Linked DNA regions of Homo sapiens: all the other regions are linked to region 6. Evidence: promoter capture Hi-C in human tissues and cell types (Jung and others, 2019). All regions are on one chromosome and are shown on one strand. Each heading gives the region's core, a stretch centred on a gene start or on the middle of the fragment in contact. The rest is flanking DNA. Distances are from core to core; before and after follow the strand shown. Region 1 holds the start of SART1 (spliceosome associated factor 1, recruiter of U4/U6.U5 tri-snRNP). Region 2 holds the start of FIBP (FGF1 intracellular binding protein). Region 3 holds the start of SNX32 (sorting nexin 32). Region 4 overlaps VPS51 (VPS51 subunit of GARP complex). Region 5 has its middle 5.7 kb from the start of SPDYC. Region 6 holds the start of LTBP3 (latent transforming growth factor beta binding protein 3).

Region 1 (3,512 bases), core at 284-2,783, 400 kb after region 6:
TTGGGTCCTATAAATTCAAGCATGAATAAGATGAAATGACTCCTGCCTCTGAGGACGCCCAGTGAGTGGGAGAGGGGGTGGATCCTTAAAGGGGCGCATACAACATAGCCTAACACATGCTGAGTTGTGCCACACAGGGAGCCACAGACTGAGCAACCACTGGGTGAGGGGAGGGGTTTCAGGAGAGATTGGGATTGTGTGCACTGCGCTTTTTTTTTTTTTTTTTAAGACAGAGTCTCGCTCTGTCACCAGGCCGGAGTGCAATGGTGTGATCTCAACTCACTGCAACCTCTGCCTCCCAGGTTCAAGCGATTCTCCTGCCTCAGCCTCCTGAGTAGCTGGGACTACAGGTGTGCGCCACCACACCCAGCTAATTTTTGTATTTTTAGTAGAGACGGGGTTTTACCATGTAGGCCAGGATGGTCTCGATCTCTTGACCTCGTGATTCGCCTGCCTTGGCCTCCCAAAGTGCTGGGATTACAGGCGTGAGCCACCGCGCCCGGCCTGCACTGGGGTTTTAAGTCCCAATAGTTTTAAGTTAGGGCTGGTCTCCTCAAGAAAAAAACTCATACACACAGATGTGCCACATTTTGCATTCAATTTCAGGGGTTCCAGGGATACACTGACGCCCATGTGGAGCTCCTAAACAATCTTAACAGTTCACGGGGCCAGGTTTTAAAAATCCAATCCAGGGCCAGGCGCAGTGGCGCATGCCTGTAATCTCAGCACTTTGGGAGGCCAAGGCGGGTGTATAGCCTGAGCTCAGGAGTTCGAGACCAGCCTGGCCAACATAGTGACCCCACCCCCTACCCCCGCTCCCCACCAACCATCTACAAAAAAATACAAAAATTAAAGGGGCGTGGTAGCGTACTCTCGTAGTCCCAGCTACTGGGAAGGCTGAGGTGGGAGGATCACTTGAGCCCAGGAGGTCGAGGCTGCAGTGCGCTGTGATCACGCCACTGCACTCCAGCCTGAGCAACAGAGTGAGATCCTATCTCAAGGGAAAAAACAAAACAAAACAAAACAGGGAACGTGGGAAGGAAGCGTTCCCTGACGATACTGGTTATAGCGGGTCTGAAGCTGGGCTGTGGAATTGGAGATCTCGGGAAAACAACACCCGTTGGAGCCACGACCCTAGGAGTCCACTAAGCGAGCGCCCATTGTAGGAGGGAGGTGTCTACGGAAAGACCGTGAGGTAGTGAACACCCCGTTGCCGGTGAAGTGCAAGCGCAGGGAGGCCGGGGAGGAACTTAAAGCCACGAAGACACTGACTTAATGGGCTCTAAGTCCTTCCAGTTCTGGGATCCCACCTCCGGGTTAATTCCGCTTCCCTTGAGGAGCGCATGCGCAATGGGACCACTCGCTCAAAGAACCCACCCGACCCGAGACGGCGCGAATGTGCAGTCGAGCGCTGATCCCGGCCTTCCCATGAGCCTCTGGGGCAGGCTCCAAGGCGAGCGACGGAAGCAGCCGCTCTTAGTTTCCGGCAACACGACAGCGGCTGCCGAGCGACCCGGAAGTATTCCCATTTTGCGTTGTCTGGGCTCGGCGGCAGCCGGGCTCGGAGTGGACGTGCCACTATGGGGTCGTCCAAGAAGCATCGCGGAGAGAAGGAGGCGGCCGGGACGACGGCGGCGGCCGGCACCGGGGGTGCCACCGAGCAGCCGCCGCGGCACCGGGAACACAAAAAACACAAGCACCGGAGTGGCGGCAGTGGCGGTAGCGGTGGCGAACGACGGAAGCGGAGCCGGGAACGTGGGGGCGAGCGCGGGAGCGGGCGGCGCGGGGCCGAAGCTGAGGCCCGGAGCAGCACGCACGGGCGGGAGCGCAGCCAGGCAGAGCCCTCCGAGCGGCGCGTGAAGCGGGAGAAGCGCGATGACGGCTACGAGGCCGGTGAGGAGGCGGGGCCTGCGCAGGGGGCGGGTCGGGCGGGGGTCCCGGAACGCGTGGGTCTGGGTGTGCGCGCAGTGTCAGCGAAGCTCTTCAGGCCAGGAAACCCCCAAGCTGTTTACCAGCTCTATTAAATAGTCTTTCTACGGGATCCCTTGAGCCCAGGAGTTAGAGGCTGCAGTGAGCTGCGGTCCCGCCAGTGTACTCCAGCCTGGGCAACAAAGCGAGACTCTGTCTCAAAAAGAAAAAAGTCTTTCTACGGTTGTTTAGGATTAGAGGTTGACTTTCTCCACTCAGCTGCTTGAGGACAGAGGGCTTCTGTTTTCCTCAGTTGTCTGGTACAATCAGATTCTCAATAAATATGTTGAATGAGTGAATGAAGTAGTGTCAGCATATACAGAGGCAAGAAAAACCTGGTATTGGACGAATCGTGTAGGGCGCATGGTAGAGAAATGAGGGAGTAAGATAGACAGGGATGTGAACACAAAGGACCCTGTACTGTAGTCTCTGTTAAGAACTGTAGATTGTCTTGAGGATAGTAGGGAGCCATGGATGTGAGTTGAGGAGTGAGTTGCTCAGATCCGTATTTTGTAAACATCACTGGATTGAGAATTTAGTCAAAGGTAGTCAGGACTGGAGACCAGGAAACCAGGAGGGCTATAGGCCAGGGGAGGGCTGATGGTGGCCTGCACCAAGGCAGCAGCAGTGGGATTGAGAGAAGTGGACAGGTTGGAGAGGTGTTTTGGAGGAGGAATGAACAGAACTCAGCACTTGTATGAGGGTGGGAAGAAGGAATGGAGGATGACTCCTTGAATTTTGGCTTGAGCAGCCAGATAGGTAGTGGGTGTCATTTCTACTGAAATTGAGGAGTAGGGAAGAGAAGCAGATTTGGAGCGGGGGTGGGGGGAGATAGTTCACTTTTGGGGTTGTCAAGGTTGATGGTAATGGGGAAATCCAGAGTTTGGACTGGATAAAGCCATTGGGAGTCAGTATCTGGGTGGCCAGTGAAGCCCCTGAAAGACTGTGACATGAGAAGAGGGGGTCAGGACTAGAACCTGAGAAATGCCCTTATGTTAGTAGTAGGCAGAGAAAGATGTTACCAAAAAAAGGAGACAGAGTAACCAAAAAGGCAGGAAAACCTTTGTGTCATGGGAACTTTGGGAAGAGAGTATTGTTAGAAGGAGGGAGCGATCAGCAGTCCCACATACCACAGGAGATCAAGCAAAACCAGAACCGAAAAGAACCCACTAGATTTAGAAACGAGGAGGCTGGTGACCTTGGGGAGCCTGGAGAGGTTGGGATCCATGGCCCAGGTGGAGAGAGAAGCCTTTAAGATAAAGGAGAAGGTAGGATGCAGGATGGGAATGCAGGAAAGGAAGAGTTTTTTTTTTGTTTTGTTTTGTTTTTTTGAGACAAAGTCTTGCTCCATTGCCCAGGCTAGAGTGCAGTGGCACGATCTCAGCTCACTGCAAGCTCTGCCTCCTGGGTTCAAGCAATTCTCCTACCTCAGCCTCCCGAGTATCTGGGATTACAGGTGCGCACCACCGTGCCTGGCTAATTTTTATATTTTTAGTAGAGACGGGGTTTCACCATCTTGGCCAGGCTGGTCTTGAACTTCTGAC
Region 2 (3,666 bases), core at 341-2,840, 330 kb after region 6:
CTCTTGTCTTGGATTTCAAGGGGTAGATATTGCCAAGAACAGTACCCTCCAGGTAGAAGCAACATGAGTAAAGGAAAGCCTGGGGCTGGAGAAATGTAAGCCTAGAGAGGTCTGCAGGGATGAGATAACAGGACAGTCCATAGGTCAAAGCCAAGGAGTGCAGCTGCTACCCAGGAGGCAGTGGGAGCCAATGAAAGTTTATCAGGGGTCTGATAAAATTTCAGGTCATTCTGAAAGGTCACTCTGGCCATACAGTACAGGATAGCTTGGAAGGCACAACAGGGAGCCAGGCACGGTGGCTCACGCCTGTAATGTCAGCACTTTGGGAGGCCGAGGCGGATGATCACTTGAGGCCAGGAGTTCAAGACAAGCCTGGCCAACATGGTGAAACCCTGTCTCTACTAACAATACAAAAATTAGCTGGGTGTGGGAGCGGGCGCCTGTAATCTCAGCTACTGCAGAGGCTGAGGCACAAGAATTACCTGAACCCAGGAGGCGGAGGTTGCAGTGAGCTGAGGTCGCGCCACTGCACTCCAGCTTGGGCCACAGAGCAAGACTCCATCTCGAAAAAAAAAAAAAAAAAGGAGGGGAAAGGGGAAGGGAGGAGAAGACTAGGTATGAAGCTGCTGCCACAATCAGAGGCTGGAACTGGGCCAGTGGCCAAAGGGAGGGAGTGAAGTGTAGATGGGATGCTGTGTCCGTGTGGATGCAGTGCATACCTGTCTCCGGCAGCTCTTGAGGGTGATGCCTGTTTTGGTGCTGATGTCATCCAGGTCTTTCTTGGTGCCTTTGGACAGCTTCTTGCCCAGCACCTCCCGAACAAAGGCCTCATCAAAGGCATAGTACCTTGTGGAGTCAGAGAACACCATTGACCCTCCATAAAAGACAGGAAAGGGAGTCTGGCGGGGCCTAGCAGGGCCTAGGTCTGACCCCTTCCACTCTCAACTTTCTGATGGCTGGGTAAATCCCATCCCTCCCTGGGCCTGTTTCAGCCGGCAAAATGGGTATACAGTCAGACTGGTTGATGTCTCCACCATCCCAGAGGGTGAGCACCTCTCGATGAGTAGTGCCTGCCGGGAGGGCGGAATCTGGAAGATGAGCTGGTGCAGTAGCTTGGGCGGCGCATGCAGCAGCCGCTCGAGCATGTGGAAGGTGCGGTAATGGTCCATGGTGTCGCTCTGCAGCACCGCTGCCGTGGCGCCAGTCTGCTCCAGGATTCCCGAGCGCACCCGCAGGGCCACCGCGTCGGTCACTGGAAAGCGGACGCTAGCATCAGGCCCCGCCCCGCCGACGCCAGAGGCCCTTAAGGGTTTCCATCCCAGACCCCTATAACACCTCTTATTCCCAGGCGCTCGCCCACTTCCCTAAAGGATGCCCAAGTCTTAGCCCCGCCCCCTCTCCCATTCAACACAACCGCTCCGCCGACTGGCTTCCCCACACGCCCCTCACGGACCCGAGTAACCATCGAGCCAGAGGCGATACACGTCCTCGTCGATAAGGGTCGTGTTCCCCACGAAGATGTCCAGCTCACTGGTCATGGCGACGCCCGGGGCCGCAGCGCCCCGAGCAGGAGCGAGCACTGCTCGGGACTGGCGCGCCGCCTTCAGGCCACTTCCGGGAGCGCCGAGATTCCGCTCGCGGCATCGGGACCCAGCTTATGACCACTTCCGGGACACAGCCAGTCGGGGAGGGGACGGGGCGGGAGCGGCGAGGGAAGAGAGGGGGAGGCCTGCGCGGAGGAGCACCGCTTCCTCCCGCCGGGAGGGGGAGTCCCGGGCTCCTGCGTCCTGTCTCCCTCCCCGGCCGTCTGCAGGAGCACGAAGGGAGTGCCTCCTCTTCGTCTCCTCGGTCCCCGTAACTTCTCCCCTCACTTCCTCCTGGCTTTTCTCCCACCTTCTCTGCCCTCTTCGGGACCTCCTAAGTTTGACCTGTATCCTAAACTTAGGGGTTTCACAGGGCTCTATCCTAAATCTCCGCAAAAATGGGGTATGACCCGACTTCCTCGGGCTCTTGCTGGAGACTGGTTTGTCCATCCTGCGCATGAGCACCTCTCCTGGGTTTGGGGCACCTGCTCCCACCTTGGTTTTAATCCCACCCCCAGCCCCACGAGCTACTGACGTCTCTAATTCTGCCCCTCCGAGCTCTGCCTGGAAGTCCACATCCGGAGGGGCCGCCTATCGGCCAAGTCTATCCACACTCTTCCCGTAAGCCCCTCAAAAGCTCAACATATTCTAGACAGACCTCTGCCTCTCCCCATTTGTTTCTTTCCTGCGTCCCTATCTCAGTGACAGCCCTAACATCCACCAGTTCTCATACGAGAAACCTGGGCGTTCTTCCAGACTCCTCTCTCCCCACATTCAGTTCGGCTGATTTGCCTCCCGAATATTTCTAGTATCTGTTTGTCCTCTCCACCCCCACTGATGCTGCCCCAGCCGTCTTTCTGCTTAGCTCTCCTTGCTCTTGCTCTTTGACACCGTTACTAATCTCCCTGTTTATGTCCCCTCCCCGCAGGGTCCGGCCCACACAGATCAGCCCAATCTTTTTAAATACATTTTTTTTTTCGAGACAGCGTCTCGCTCTGTCGCCCAGGCTGGAGTGCAGTGGCGCGATCTCGGCTCACTGCAACCTCCGCCTCCCGGGTTCAAGCAGTTCTCTGCCTCAGCCTCCCGAGTAGCTGAGATTACAGGCTCCTCCCACCACGCCCGGCTAATTTTTGTATTTTTAGTAGAAACGGGGTTTCACCATCTTGGCCAGTTAAAGGCATATTTTAAAATGTTACTCCCTTGCTTAACATCCTTACAAATGTTACTCTCTTGCTTAACATCCTTAGTGGCCTTTGGAAATGCTCCAACCTGGTACTGGAAGTTCTTAAGAATCTGGCTTTTACCTACCTTTGAAGCCTCGCTCTCTCTCTCTTAGCATTTTCTCGACACATCTGCTTTTCAAAAACCAAGCTATCCTCATTGTTCCTAAAGCAGCTAGGCTCTTTCGGGCACCAGTGTCTTTCACTATGTTATTCTCTCTCCCTGAAATAGCTCTTTACTTGGCAAAGTCCTATGGATCTACCAGAGCCTCTTGGATAGCATCTCTTTTGGGAACCCTCTTAAGGACCCTCAGACCATACTCCTCCCGGATTTATTTCTTGCTTAACACAGCTTGACTTCCCGGACAGACTGCGACCTCCTTGAGGATGGAATCGGTATTTTGGTTAAATTTATTTCTGCATGGGCCTTGCACATAAAAAACGTTTATTGAACAAACGAATCCTGTATGTTCCTCCCCCCAGGCAGGAAACGCTCCCTGGGAGGGAGGGTAGTCTATTGGTGAGCTAGGACGTTTGGACTCAGGGTTCCGAGGAACCAGGAGCGATCCTTAGTGGGCCGAGACTTCCGAATTTGATCAAAGGTAAAGAGGGACTGGAGAGCGGTCCATCTGACTTCTGTGGGGGATGGGCAGGAGTCAGGGGCGGACGCCTGAATCTTGTTTCTCAGAAGAGCCGAGAGGCCTAGGCTCAAGCTTGGGGCGATCCGGTACTTGGAGGTTCGAAGCTCCTAGTTTCGGGTTGAGACCGATGTGGAGGGCGATGACGCGCGGGTTCCTTGACATCGAGGATCAGTAACACCCGGAGTGGGTGGGGAACGAGGGGGGCGGCCCCTGAGCTCAGGC
Region 3 (3,406 bases), core at 337-2,836, 280 kb after region 6:
TTGATCTTAGCTTCTCTCCACTCAACCTCAGCTTCTCTCTGCTTGATCTTAGCTTCTCTCCACTCAACCTCAGCTTCTCATCACTGGTTCCCAGCTTCTCTCCACTCAACCTCAGCTTCTCTCTGCTTGATCTCAGCTTCTCTCCACTCAACCTCAGCTTCTCTCCACTCAACCTCAGCTTCTCATCACTGGTTCCCAGCTTCTCTCCACTCAACCTCAGCTTCTCTCTGATTGATCTCAGCATCTCTCCACTCAACCTCAGCTTCTCATCACTGGTTCCCAGCTTCTCTCCACTAGTTCCCAGCTTCTCTCCACTCCATCTCAGCTTCTCTCTACTTGATCTCAAATTCTCTCCACTTGATCTCAGCTTTCTGCCACTGGACCTCAGCTTCACTCCACTGGACCCCTGCTTCTCTCCCCTGCACACCAGCTTCTCACTAGTAGACCTCAGCTTCTCTACACTTGATCTCATCTTGTCTACACTAGACCTCAACCCCTTCTCATCCTGTCCCAGTTTATATCCATTGGATCTCAAGTCCTCTCCACTGGTCCCTACCTTCTCCCCAGCAGACCTCAACCTCTCTTCAAACCCAGACCCCTTCATAGGCCCTGCTGTCATCCCTGCACTCTTAGATTTAGCCTTTATTTCGTGTTTGACCTCTTGCTTTCCCCAAATACCCCTTGGGCTGTCTTTCCCCAAATCTGCTGAAGCTTGTGATGCACTTGCTCCACGGTATAGCAGCTTCACATCCATCCTTTCCTGACTCGGGCCTGACTTCCCTTTCAAGACCGTCTTTTCCACATCTTCCAGTCTCCAGTACTCAGACTCCAGCTTCGGCTTTCGAGTGTTTCTAGTCAGGAGCTCCACTCTCTTCCCAATTACCATGAGCCCGTTCCAAGGTCCCCAGGTTTTCTCTCGCAGCATCGGCACCCCCTTGCAGCCCCGCTCCAGTGGCGACCGTTCGCGGACCCCGGCCTCGCTTGGGGCGCCCTGGCCGCGGGACTTGTGGAGCTCCCTAGTCCTCCTAGGCTGCTTACCCCGCCGCTCCCTCCCGTCCAAGAGCGGAAACCTAAACAGACCCCCCTTCTCCACAGACATTGTCCCCTGCCCTCGCCCCTGGTCCACCACCCACATCCCCACCACTGCTTCCCATTCCCTGTCCCCACCCTGCCACCCTCACCCTCTTCCCCTTCCCCTTCCCCTTCCCCACTGCCTGGTGGGCGCCAAACTGGGCGAGTGCGCACGCGCAGGCCGCACGTGGCCGTTGGAAGGAGGGGCCCGGAACGGCGGCACGGGGTTGTTGTGGGGGTCAGTCCCCCGGGGACTGGAGGGAGACGCGGCACGCGGCCTCTGCGACCCTATGAACTCTGACCCCAGCTCCCACACTGTCGCCTATCACCGGCCCACTCTCCGTGCCGCGTGTCCCTTAAAAGCTGGGGCCTGGGACAGGAACGACAGACAATGCAGCCAATGGCGTCACGCGCGGTGCCCCGCTACCCAATCGAAAGGCGTGGCTGAGGGAAACGCGGTGGGAACCGCCCCCGACTCCAGGCGACTCCTTGGCCGGGCGGGGGAGAGCGTCCCCGTCAGCTGAGAGCATCCTCACTCGGTCAGTTCCTCGGGCGAGTTACGGGGACGACCTGCGGGAGCACGCGGGCAGTGGCCGGACGCTGAAGCCCAGGAGAGCGATGGAGACGTATGCGGAGGTTGGGAAGGAGGGCAAGGTAGAGAAAGGATGAAGACCCCCACCCCAGCCTCCCCTCACTCCATGAAAGCCCGTGATGCCCAATCATGCGGTGGTGTGTGTGTGTCTGTGTGTGTGTGGTCTGCCTCTGTGTGTTTCTGTGTGTGTCTGTGTGTGTATAGTCTGCATGTGTCTGTTTCTCTGTGTGTCTGTGTGTATGTCGATGTGCCTGCATATGTCTGTGTGTGTGTGTATCTGTGTATGTCTGTATTTGTGTCTCTGTGTGTCTGTGTGTCTGTGTGTGTCTCAGTGTGTGTCTGTGTCTTTGTGTGTCTCTGTGTATCTGTGTGTGTGTCTGTGTGTCTCCGTGTCTCTGTGTGTGTGTGTATGGCCTGTGTGTGTCTGTGTGTGTGCACGTATGCGTCCATGTGGGTGTTTGTGCGTGCATGTCTGTGTCTGTCTCTGTGTGTGTCTGTGCATGTCTGTGTGTGTGTGTCTGTGTGTCTGTGTCTGTGTATGGTCTGCGTGTGTCTTTGTGTCTGTGTCTGTCTGTGTGTATGGTCTGCATGTGTGCATGTATGCATCTGTGTGTGTCTCTGTGTGTATCTGTGTGTGCACGCATGTGCCTGTGTGTGTCTGCGCAGGTCTGTGTCTCTTTGTGTCTGAGTGTGTGTCTGTCTCTGTGTCTATGTATGGTCTGCGTGCATCTTTATGTCTGTGTGTGTGTGTCTCTGTGTGTGTGTATGGTCTGCGTGTGTCTGTGTGTGTGTGTCTGTGTATTTCTGGGTCTGTGTGTGTGTTTGCATGTGTCTGTGTGTGTCTGTATCCGTGTGTCTTTGTATATCTGTGTGTGTCTATGTCAGTGTGTCTGTGTGTGCATCTGTGTGTGTCTGTGTGCCTGTGTATGATCTGTGTATGTCGTTGTGTGTGTCTGTGTGTGTGTTTCTCTGTGCCTGTGTGTTTGTGTGTGTCTGTGTATCTGTGTGTGTTTCTATGTGTGTCTGTGTGTGCGTGTGTCTGTGTTTGTCTCGTGTGTCTGTGTGTGTGTATGTGCCCATGTGTCTCTGTGTGTATGTGTGTGTCTGCGCAAGTGAGAGAAAGGAGACTTGAGCAAGGGAGTGGGGAGCCTCTGTGGCACCTGTGTGCGGACTGATGAGGATGCCAAGGGAGGCAGGGTTTTGCCTTTGTCCTTACAGATGGAAAGGGACCCGTCACTGTCACTCTTACCCTCCCCAAGACCAACTCAGGCTGTCTTGATGGGGGTAGGTGGGTAGGGGGTGGGAGGTGAGGGCGGGGAGGAGGGCAGGATGTTAGGGATTGAGCAGAGGCTGGCATCCTCTTCTCCTTTCCCAAGGCGAGAGAATCCTGTTCAGCCCTAATGGCTTCACTTGTGTTCTGAGTTCATGTAATGATAAGACCATTTCTTCCTTTTGACTTCCTTCAGCAAAGAGTTGTCGAGCATCCACGTTGTGCCAAGGATGGTTAGAGCATGGAGAGGTGCACCCTTTTGGGAGATGGAGGCATATGCATAGTGGGCCGTGGCTGAGGATGAGGATGGAGCAGCTGTGGTCCACCTTTGAGGCCCATCTCCCTCAAGCAGCTACCAAGCAGTGTAGGTCAGAGTAGAGATACTAAGGCAGGAGGAAAGAGGCTGGGGACTAGGGGACCTGCTGCACCAGTTAGCCAGACTGCATGTGTTTGGGGTCTGGGGCAAGGGGAGA
Region 4 (3,414 bases), core at 829-3,328, 460 kb before region 6:
ACTTCAACTTGGGCAACAGAGCAAGACCCTGTCTCAAAAAAAAGAAAGTATCTATCTGAAGAAGCATCCCAGACACTAGGCTGGGCACAGTGGCTCATGCCTGTAATCCCAGCACTTTGGGAGGCCGAGGCAGGTGGATCACCTGAGGTCAGGAGTTCGAGACCAGCCTGGCCAATATGGTGAAACCCCATCTCTACTAAAAATAAAAAAATTAGCTGGGTGTGGTGGCAGGCACCTGTAATCCCAGCTACTCAGGAGGCTGAGTGGGAGAATCACTTGAACCTGGGAGGTGGAGGCTGCGGTGAGCCAAGATCACGTCACTGCACTCCAGCCTAGGCAGCAGAGCAAGACTCTGTCTGAAAAAAAAAATAATAAGAAGAAGAATCCCTGACATCAAGGAAACCTCAGTAAGGTGTAGTTTCTCTTATTATTGATAGCTTTCTTTTCTGCTCCAGGGAAGAATAGGTGGTCTTGTCCCTCCCTTTCTTTCTCCCTTCCTTCCCTCCTTAACTAAGCAAAGAGAGAAGATGTATGATATTAGGGGACACAAAGATCATGTCGAGGCTTTTTTTTTCTTCTGTCCTCTTTATTCTCTAGTGCCAGACAGTGTTCCACTGTTTTCCACACTAGCTTCTGTGCTGTTTTGAGGAGATGTACTACTCAGACTTTTGTAGTAATTGTACACCCACGTGTAGTAAGTCCAGGAGCCAGATCCAAAGGGTTTACCTGCAGCCTGTGGAATGTTCTGGGAGCATCTGTGGGGTTGCATTCTGATGTCTTACTCTCGTGTCACAGTGGTGGGTGTGGTAACCTATACACATTGTTCTTTTATCTGATTTGAAGCAGATTCCATGAGTAGGCACCTTTCTGTTAGCTAATACCAGCATCAAAATGGCAAGAAATCATAGTTTCTGTGCTGGGATATTTCTCACAGGAATTTAATAAGATTACATTTTCCATTTGTTGGAATGTGTATAATAATATTTTGAGACTTAGCTCTTTTTGTACATCCCACAAAAGGAACAAACGTTTGGAAAAGTGTGAGGATAACCAGGAGCATTGATGTCTTAGAAGCTTAAGTGAGGGGCCGGGCATGGGGTTCTCACCCGTGATCCCAGCACTTTGGGAGGCTGAGGTGGGTGGATCACTTGAGGCTAGGAGTTCAAGACCAGCCTGGCCAACATGGTGAAACCCTGTCTCTACTAAAAATACAAAAATTAGCTGGGCAAGGTGGTGCATGCCTGTAGTCCAAGCTACTCATGAGGCTGAGGCAGGAGAATTGCTTGAACCCAGGAGGTGGAGGTTGCGTGAGGAAGGTGTTTCAAGACATAGATTTGATAGACTTGGGCGAGACACTCAGGAAAGTAATGTAGCATGGAGTGTGTGTTGATTGGGCAAGAGAGAGAGAAAAATGAGAAAGGAACTAGGTCCTCAGGAAGGAGGGGGGTGGAACAGAGCAGGGATGGAGGCATCGGCCTCAGCAAAGGGCCGGGAGCTCATCTATGGTAGCAGGAGGGGAAGCAGAATGTGGGCAGAGCCAGGCAGATAGTAGATGTGCAGTTTAACTAGAAACCTTCCAGAATGTATTAGGGATTTGGCTTTTATCCACAGAGAGCTAAAACAAATGAGTGATGTGCTCAGATTTCTGGTTTGAATAGATTCCTCCAGCTGCACTGGCAGGAATGGATGGGGCTGAGCACAGTGGCTCATGCCTGTAATCCCTGCACTTTGGAAGGCTGAGGTGGGAGGATCACTTGAGCCCAGGAGTTTGAGACCAGCCTGTGCAACATAGTGAGACCCGATATCTAGAAAAAAAAAAATAGCTGGGTATGGTGGCACACACTTGTTAGAATAAACCCAGCTACTTGGGGAGGCTAAGGTGGGTGGATCACATGAGCCCAGGAGCTGGAGATTGCAGTGAGCTATAATCTCACCATTGCACTCTAGCCTGGGTGACAGAGCAAGACCTAGTCTCAAAAAATAAATAAATAAATAAAAAGGCCAGGTGCGGTGGCTTATGCCTATAATCTTAGCACTCTGAGAGGCCGAGACGGGTGGATCATCTGAGGTCAGGCATTTGAGACCAGGCTGGCCAATATGGTGAAACCCCATCTCTACTAAAAATACAAAAATTAGTCAGGCATGGTGGCAGGCATCTGTAGTCCCAGCTACTCAGGAGGCTGAGGCAGGAGAATCGCTTGAACCCAGGAGGCGGAGGTTGCAGTGAGTCGAGATCGCGCCACTGCACTCCAGCCTGGGCAACAGAGCGAGACTCCGTCTCAAAAATAATAATAATAATAAATAATAATAAAAGGACAGCCCACAGAATGGGAGAAAATATTTGCAAGTTAGTTATCTAATAAAAATCTAGTGTTCAGAACATAAAAAGAACGTTTTTTAGCTCAGGGCTAAAAAGACAAATAACCCTAATTTAAAATGGGCAAAGGATTTGAATAGACACTTCTCCAGAGAAAACATACAAGTGGCCGAAAAGCACATATAAATATGCTCAGCATCATTAGGTCTTAGGGAAATGCAAATCCAAACCACAAAATGCTGCACCCAGTGTGGAAGACAGTTTGACCATTCTTCAAAACCACACACAAGATTACCATATGATCGGCAATTTTACTCCTAGGAATATACCAAAGAGAATTGAAAACATGTTCACATAAAAACATGTACACAAGTGTTCATAGCAGTGTTTTTTTTTTTTTTTTTTTTTTTGAGATGGAGTCTAGCTCTGTCACCCAGGCTAGAGTGCAGTGGTGCCATCTTGGCTCACTGTAACCTCCGCCTCCCCAGTTCAAGCGATTCTCCTGCCTCAGCCTCCTGAGTAGCTGGGATTATAGGTGTGCACCATCACACCCGCCTAATTTTTTTATTTTTATTTTTTGTATATTTACTAGAGACGGGATTCCACCTTGTTGGCCAGGCTGGTCTTGAACTCCTGACCTCAAGTGATCCGCTTGCCTCGGCTTCCCAAAGTACTGGGATTACAGGCAAGAGCCACCATGCCTGGCCAATAGCAGCACTTTTTATAATAGCCACAAGGTGGAAGCAATCCAAATGGCCATCAATTGAATGAATATAAACAAATATCCACACAGTGGAATATTATTCAGCCATAAAAATAGATATAACATACTGACACAGGCTACAACATAGATTAACCTTGGAAACATGCTAATGTTTCATATGCCTATGATTCCATTTCTGTTAAATGTATTCTGTAGCGAATAGACAAATCCATAGAGACAGAAACTAGATTAATGGTTGCCAAGTTCTAGGAGTGGGGGAATAAGGAATGACTGCCAAGGGTTACAGGGTTTCTTTAGGGGATGATGAAATGTTCTGGAATTACGTAGTGAGGTTGGTTGTACAACCTTGTGAATATATTAAACATATTAAAAA
Region 5 (3,551 bases), core at 886-3,385, 390 kb before region 6:
GGTGTGGTGGCACATGCCCATAATCCAAGCTACTCAGGAGGCTGAGGCAGGAGAATCGCTTGAACCTGGGAGGCGGAGGTTGCAGTGAGCTGAGATCGTGCCACCGCACTCTAGCCTGGGCAACAGAATGAGACACCCCTCTCAAAAATAAATAAATAAATAAATAAATAAACAAATAATATGTACTTTTATCCAGTTTCATCCATGTTGTTGAGAATGACAGAATTTTGTTCCTTTTATGGGTGAACAATATTCCATTGTGTATATATACCACATTTTCTTTACCTATTTATCCACTGATGGACACTTAGGTTGATCTCATATTTTGGCTATTGTGAATAGTACTGCAATAAATATGGGAGTGCATTTAGAAATATACTTAAATGAATCTAATGTTTTTATTACAATGTACTTTTTTTGTTTGTTTGTTTTTTGAGACAGCGAGTCTCTCTGTCGCCAGGCTACAGTGCTGTGGCATGATCTTGGCTCACTGCAACCTCTGCCTCCCGGGGTCAAGGGATTCTCCTGCCTCAGCCTCCCAAGTAGCTGGGATTACAGGCGTGCACCACCACGCCCAGCTAATTGTTGTATTTTTAGTAGAGACAGGGTTTCACTATATTGGCCAGGCTGGTCTCAAACTCCTGACCTTAGGTGATCTGCCCCCGCCTTGGCCTCTCAAAGTGCTGGGATTACAGGCGAGAGCCACCACTCTGGGCCAAAATGTACATTTTAGATAATACACTGTAGAAACTCTGGATGCCAGCCCTCTCTTAGGAGTCAATGTTGTTACTGTTTGGTTGGCCATTTCTTTTTTGGTTTAGTGACTTGACTGAATTAACTTTGTGAAGTGTATTTTCCTTGCAGTGTGTAGCCTGGAATGTCTGTTTTCTGATTTTTTTTCTTTTAAAAAAATCTAACAACTGGGCCTGGTGGCTCATGCTTGTAATCCCAGCATTTCTGGGGTTGAAGCAGGAGGATAGCTTGAGCCTAAGAGTTCAAGGTAGCAGAGAGCTATAATCATGCCATTGCACTCCAGCCTGGGTGATATAGCAATACCTTGTCTCAAAAAAAAAAAAAAATCTTTTAGCTTGGCTCTCTAGGGGTCACCCCCGGTCAGCACAACTCACTTATGGTCAAAATGACCATAAACCACTTATTGGTCAAAGTTTGTGCTTAAGTTCCAGATTTTTATCTTTACTAGTAGATACGTGTGTGGCCTGCAGACTGGCTACTGCACTTCAGTGAGTTTATGTTTTTGCTCATGTTCAGTCAGAGAATATGCTTCCCCATTTGCTGTATGTGCCTTTAGGATAATTTACAGATTTGAAATGATTGGGTTCTTAAAATAAATTTTTCTGGCCGGGTGCGGGGTGGCTCACATCTGTAATCCCAGCACTTTGGAAGGCCGAGGCAGGCGGATCACGAGGTCGGGAGTTCGAGACTAGCCTGGCCAGTATGGTGAAACCCTGTCTCTACTAAAAAAATAGAAAAATTAGCTGGATGTGGTGGCGCGTGCCTGTAATCCCAGCCACTCGGGAGGCTGAGGCAGGAGAATCACTTGAACCCACGAGTCGGATGTTGCAGTGAGCCGAGATCACGCCACTGCACTCCAGCCTGGAGACAGAGTGAGACTGCGTCTCAAAAGTAAATAAATAAATAAATTTTTCTAGTTAAATGGTTGTTTTGTTGGGGAATGGGTCTGCTGAGCTCCTTACACCACCATTTTGGAAATTGGTGGTGTATTTAAATTTTTTAAAATATCTTATTCCTATGGTTCCCTCCCCTTTGTCATATATTTGTTATATTTGTCTTTCTCCCTTTTTTCCCCCTGAAACAAGGTAACTAGTGGTTTGTCTTTTTTTTTTTTCCAAGACAGATTCTTGCTCTGTTGTCCAGGCTGGAGTGCAGTGTCCCGAACATGGCTCACTGCAACCTCTGCCTCTCAGGCTCAAGTGATCCACCATGCCCAGCTAGGTTTTTTGGTGTGTGTGTGTGTGTGTGTGTGTGTGTGTGTGTGTGTGTGTGTGTGTGTTTTGTTTTGTTTTATAGAGACAGGATCTCTCTATGTTGCCTAGGCTGGTCTTGAACTTCTGGGCTCAAGCAATTCTCCCATCTTGGCATCTCAAAGTGCTGGGATTGCAGGTGTGAGCCACTGTGCCAGGCTGTGTTTGTCTTTGTTAATAATAATAATTTTCACCGGGCATGGTGGCTCACACCTGTAAGCCAGCACTTTGGGAGGCTGAGGCAGGTGGATCACAAGGTCAACAGATCGAGACCATCCTGGCCAACATGGTGAAACCCCATCTCTACTAAAAATATAAAATATTAGCTGGGTGTGGTGGGGCCCACCTGTAGTCCCAGCTACTCGGGAGGCTGAGGCAGGAGGATCACTTGAATCCCGGAGGCTGATGTTGCAGTGAGCCGAGATTGCACCACTGCACTCCAGCCTGGCGACAGAGAGAGACTCCGTCTCAAAAATAATAATAATAATGATGTCTCATTTTATTACACTGTGCTCAGAGAATATTGTTTGTATATTTCTACTTTTTTTAAGGTACTGATGATTTCTTTGTGACCTAAGATATGATCATTTTTTGTAAATATTTTGTTTCTTTGGAAACGTGGTTTTTTTTTTTTCCAGGGGAATTTTTCTTGGTTGGTGTGTGTTATTTTGTTTTCAGATTTTTTAAAATATCAGCTCCATACGGATCTATTCATCTTCTTTCTATTCGTTTTTGTGGTATTGGATGGTTTACAAGATTCCTAGCTCAATAGCACACTGTTAGGTCAATATAGCAAAGTTCAGATGGTTTAGAAGCTTTTTATTTGTTTGTTTCGGTGTGGGGGTGGGTAGGGTTTTGTGTTCTCCCATTGCTTGGTTCTCTTCGGACCCTCAATTTCTCCCTTCTGCATTTTCCCACTTCACTTACTCAATTGCCCACGGATGCTTCTGGCCCATTTTAGCCCTTTTTTTTTTTTTTTTACCCCTCCCGCGGAATCAGTGGACTTTAACGACCTCCCCTTCCTATCGCACATACTTGTAAGCCCCTTCCCTGAGGTCTGAGCTCTGACTTCCCAGGACGTCTTCTTGGTATTTTCAGATTTTAGAATGTCGCAGTCTTTCTGATAGTTGCTCTCGACCAACCCCAGCCCGGATCGATACTCCTTTCTCCCCTCCTTCCCCAGCTTTTCTTGGCACAAAGCCTCGTGCCTGGGAGAGGCCGCAGCGCACGACGGCGTGCGGGGATATGGTCGCTTTCTTTTTATTTACATTTATCTTGAAGTTTGGACCTTCTCTGCTTTCAAGTTATGCCGACGCTGTGGTTTTGGCAGCGTTTTATTTTTCCTTTCTTGTTGTCTGGGGCTGTGTGGACAGCAAAAGTTGGCGGATGGGGACCCAGGCAGCCCCTTGGGCCTCAGGACCCGGAAGTCCCCCTGGCTGGCTTGTGACTTTTTAAGATGGAGTTCAGTTCATCAGCGTGACAGCTTTTCTTATTTTCTAACACGCGCGTTTGAGGTCATAAATTCCTCTCTAAGAATTACTAGTTGTG
Region 6 (3,656 bases), core at 327-2,826:
GCTGGTGCCATCCTGGGCCTGGCCTAATTACCCTGTCCAGGAGGGTAATTACTGCTGGGACACCTCCCCGAGCCTGGCCCACGGGGCCTAGCAGGAGGATGACTGAGCCCCAGGCCTGGCCCTTTAAAGAGAGATGCTGGGGAGGGGGTGGACTCCAAGCTGAACTGGGGAGGGTGTAGGGGCTTGGGGGAGGATGAGGGGGGCCCTGAGGGCCTCTGAGGCAGGATGTTAGGAGCTTATGGGGAGGCATTGGAAAAGGAGAGGCTGAGAACCCCGAACTAGTCCCTACCTTCAGGCCTGCACCCTACTTTTAGGCCTCAACACCCTCCCTACTCAGACCTTGCCAGTAGCCGGCTCCCATCCCCAGCCCTGACCTTAGCTCCTCCTCCCAGGGAATGCAGGTGTCTACTCTGGCAGGCCCTACTTTAGACATTTTGTAAAGACTTTTCTTGTTTCTTCCAGCAAGTCTGCTTCTTGCGGGAATATTTAGCCCTTCTCTGAGGCTTCCTGTCCCCGGCTCACATTCCTCAAAAACCCTGTGTGCTCCTGCTCAGAACTCAGCACCTTCTGGGAAGCCAGTGTCATCCAGGACCTCTGCATTTCCCCACCCCTTAGGCCCCAACCCTAACGCAAAGCTTCAAAGTCCAGGCCTCCATGCAGCCCTCCAACTCTGGCCCCCAGAGTTCCAGCCTCCCAAGTTCCCTGAGGCCCCTGGTCCCCCAGGCCCTCGGATCTCTGCCCTTTATACCCTCAGCCCCCAGTCTCTAAGGCCAAGACCCCACTAGCTCTCCCACCGGGCCTGGTGCCTGTCCTTCCCCTGCCCCCAGCCGTGCCCCCGGCCCTCACCCACGCGGAAGCCGGAGCCCGTGAGCGTGTCTGTGCTGTGGCCGTTCTCTCCGATGAGCGTCATGTTGGAGCCCTGCTGACAACTGTCCCGACACTGGCCCTTGAGACAGGTCCGCTTGCAGATCACCGGCGCAAAGACCACCTTGAAGCGCTCGCGGGCCAGCGCCCCGCCCCCGCCTGCGCCCCGCTCGCCGGCCGGCCCCCCCTCGACCCTGCCGCCCAGGCCCAGCAGCAGCAGCAGCAGCAGCAGCAGCAGCGCCAGCAGCCCCGCCGCCCCCGCCCCGCGCATCTCAGGGGCCAGGCCGCCAGCAGCCCCTCGGGGCCCGGGCATCCGGGGCCGCAGGACCCGGGGGAGGGGGGGCGCGCCCGGGCGGGGCGAGGGGCCCGCGCCCGAAGGGAGTAGAGGGCCGGGAGCCCCGGGAGAGGGTAGGGGGCAGCGAGGGAGGGCAGCGGGGGAAGCGGGCGGGAGGGGACCGCGGGGGCCCGGCGGGAGGCGCGGAGATGCAGACTGGACAGCGGGGAGCGCAGAAACTTCCCAGCCCCAGGACGAAGCCCAGACCAGGCCCCGAACTCAGGCAGGAGCGAGGAGGCCGGAGCAAGTTGAGGCGGAGAGGAGGAGCGAGGGAGAGGAAGGCCGGGCGGCCGGCCCGCTCCGCGCCTCCCCCTGGCCGGGCTCCTCTCCCGCGGCCGCGGGGAGGCAGGGAGCGCGCGGGGAGGGCTCAGGGAGAAGTGAGCAGTTGTTTTCCCTGGCTGGAGCGCGGCGCGGCGGCGGCGAGGGGGGCTGGGACGCTGGCCCCGGGCCAGGGACACAGTTTTTTTTTTTTTGTTGTTTAAAGCGTCGCCTCTGCCGCCTGGAGAAGCGAGGGTGTGCAGGCTGGCGGAGGCTGGGGGGTGGCGCGGGGACAGTCCCCACCCCAGATGCCCGCCCCCGCCGGAACCCGCGGCCGCGCTGGGCCCTTTCCAGAGGGCCCTCACCTGGGACCGTCTGGCCGGCCGCGGATTCCTCCGGGCGGGGCGGGGCGGGGAGGCCTGCGTAGAGCGAGATACCGAGGCTGAGGGAGAGAGGTGGCCCTGCCGGGTCACACTGACGATGGAGGCCGGGTGGAGCCGGAGCCCAGGCCTTCCAGCTCTTTCCCAGCCTCCCTTGCAAACGTGGGGGTCTCAGGGCCCCAAAGTAACTTCTCGTTAGTGCTGGTCCAATCCCCTCTGAGGAAAGGGCTAAAGGGTGGGGACAGCCTTTGGCCAGGGCTCACGGAGGTCCCAGGAGGAAGTCTGTGGGGTCCAGAAGAGGAGCAGAAAGAACAAAGCTAGAACCCAGCTTCCCTGCCAGCCCCCTCGGAATGGCTTCCTGGTGCCCACCCTGCCACCTCCCCCCTTTCCTTTCGTCTGGCCGTGCTGGCGGGGCTGGCTCTGGGCCTCAGACACTCTGGAATCGCCAAGGTCTGAGCTCAGGGCCTGGCCCCCTTCCCAGGCTAACAGCCGGGAGGACGGGGGCGCTGTCCGAGGGCCCAGGGGCTGGAGAGGGGCACAGCAGAGCCCCAGGGCAGGGGCTGGCAGCGGCTGGGGGTGGGGGTCTTCAGGTTGGCCATGGCTGGAGAGGAGCATAGTTCCAGACCAGGCTTGTCCGCTGGTCTGGAAGGAAAGGCTGCAACGTGCGGGGGCCCAGGCCTTACTGTGGGGCCTGCCAGGAGACCCCAGGGTTCCGTCTCTGACTCACAGAACTCAGCAGGAGGTGGGGACGGCTAGGGCACATCCAGGAAAAGCGCTGCCAAGTCAGGGCGGCACCAGACCCTCTCCCGGACAGCACCCGGGGCAGCAGTCTAATTGGGGAGAGGAGGTTCAGGGACTCACTTTCAGGCACACCTGTCCAAGGAACTCTGTTTTTACTTTGAGCGTAAGTTGATGTGGGTAGCTTTAGGGGGACGCTTAGTAAGTCCCCCTTACTAAGCGGTGCAGGGCTGGGAGGGACAATCACATGTCCCCAGGGATCCCTGCTGCCGGAATCCAGGATGGGGTGTGAGGGGCAAGCCCCTGCTTCTTGGGGCCCTGGTCCACACGGAGGCAGGGAATAATGCTAGGTGCCGACCACCTGCCAGGCACAGGGCTGAGCATTGTATACTCATTTTTTCCTAACACTCATCTGAACCTGTCCTGACTCTGCCTAGAGCTGGCTGTGGCTCACCATGGAGCACAGCACAGTCAAACAGTCCAGGGTTGGATTCTTACTGTCTCTAAGCCCCAGTTTCCTTGCTTGTGAGATGGGTATCTATTCACTCAACATCTATGTTCAACTACTGGTAATAAAAAACAAAAAATTAAAAAATAAATGTAAAAAATTCACTCAACAAACTGAGACTCCACCACATCCTAAGCTCTTGGCCACAAATAGAACCAGTCCTGCCTTCCTGGAGCTGCTGTACTAGGAGAGCTGGATATGTGCCAGATCAATTCACACAGAACTGTGGCTACAACAGAGGCTGGTACCGTGACAGAGAAGGGCAGGGAAGCAGGACAGGAGAGGGCTGGGACCTGGGAGACAAAGAGAGTCTTCCATCGGAAGCTGGAAGATGAGTAGGAGTGAGTCACACCTGTGGGCATCTGACCTCAGGGGAGGCTGCAGGGGGAGGCTATCCAGAGAACTGAGGGAAGGCCAGTGGAACAACAGGGTGTGGTGGAGAGGGAGAGCCGAAGGTGTAGTGGTGGTGGGAGGGGCCGGCCATGGTGAGGAATTTGCTTTTATTCTCATTGCAGTGGGACTGTGTCAGGGCAAGAGCGGGCACTCTGCCTTCATCCCAGGAGAGAGATCTCAC

The links. The method cuts DNA at HindIII sites, captures the fragments that hold promoters and counts their contacts. A contact is called where the count stands out against the background at its distance.
Region 1: the fragment with the promoter of SART1 here is called in contact with the fragment with the promoter of LTBP3 in region 6 in 2 of the 25 tissues and cell types used here (bladder and spleen).
Region 2: a contact is called between the fragment with the promoter of FIBP here and the fragment with the promoter of LTBP3 in region 6, in 1 of the 25 tissues and cell types used here (dorsolateral prefrontal cortex).
Region 3: the fragment with the promoter of SNX32 here is called in contact with the fragment with the promoter of LTBP3 in region 6 in 3 of the 25 tissues and cell types used here (dorsolateral prefrontal cortex, hippocampus and lymphoblastoid cells).
Region 4: a contact is called between a fragment that was not itself captured here and the fragment with the promoter of LTBP3 in region 6, in 1 of the 25 tissues and cell types used here (dorsolateral prefrontal cortex).
Region 5: a contact is called between a fragment that was not itself captured here and the fragment with the promoter of LTBP3 in region 6, in 1 of the 25 tissues and cell types used here (pancreas).

Annotation. Positions count from the first base shown.
Region 1 is chr11:65,960,201-65,963,712 of GRCh38, forward strand. It overlaps SART1 (spliceosome associated factor 1, recruiter of U4/U6.U5 tri-snRNP), which reads left to right and starts at 1,534. Exons shown (of 20, transcript NM_005146.5): 1 at 1,534-1,893. The coding sequence starts at 1,581. RefSeq lists an enhancer at 1,392-2,179. The HindIII fragment of the contact is 22,503 bases long and covers 1-3,512 here.
Region 2 is chr11:65,886,881-65,890,546 of GRCh38, forward strand. FIBP (FGF1 intracellular binding protein) reads right to left here and starts at 1,591. Exons shown (of 10, transcript NM_004214.5): 1 at 1,454-1,591; 2 at 1,054-1,252; 3 at 720-846. The coding sequence starts at 1,538. RefSeq lists an enhancer at 1,492-1,561 and silencers at 1,682-1,821, 3,584-3,666. The HindIII fragment of the contact is 8,273 bases long and covers 1-3,666 here.
Region 3 is chr11:65,832,377-65,835,782 of GRCh38, forward strand. SNX32 (sorting nexin 32) reads left to right here and starts at 1,587. Exons shown (of 13, transcript NM_152760.3): 1 at 1,587-1,725. The coding sequence starts at 1,690. LOC124902693 reads right to left here and starts at 1,423. Exons shown (of 7, transcript XM_047427980.1): 1 at 1-1,423. The coding sequence starts at 1,135. RefSeq lists silencers at 1,139-1,268, 1,442-1,654 and an enhancer at 1,579-1,668. The HindIII fragment of the contact is 13,089 bases long and covers 1-3,406 here.
Region 4 is chr11:65,097,822-65,101,235 of GRCh38, forward strand. All of the region lies in intron 2 of VPS51 (VPS51 subunit of GARP complex), which reads left to right. Among named protein-coding and RNA genes, the nearest start is that of VPS51, 3.3 kb to the left of the region's middle. The HindIII fragment of the contact is 4,540 bases long and covers 1-3,414 here.
Region 5 is chr11:65,162,787-65,166,337 of GRCh38, forward strand. No RefSeq gene overlaps it. Among named protein-coding and RNA genes, the nearest start is that of SPDYC, 5.7 kb to the right of the region's middle. The HindIII fragment of the contact is 5,816 bases long and covers 1-3,551 here.
Region 6 is chr11:65,556,783-65,560,438 of GRCh38, forward strand. It overlaps LTBP3 (latent transforming growth factor beta binding protein 3), which reads right to left and starts at 1,577. Exons shown (of 28, transcript NM_001130144.3): 1 at 847-1,577. The coding sequence starts at 1,177. RefSeq lists silencers at 1,406-1,645, 1,696-1,855. The HindIII fragment of the contact is 15,125 bases long and covers 1-3,656 here.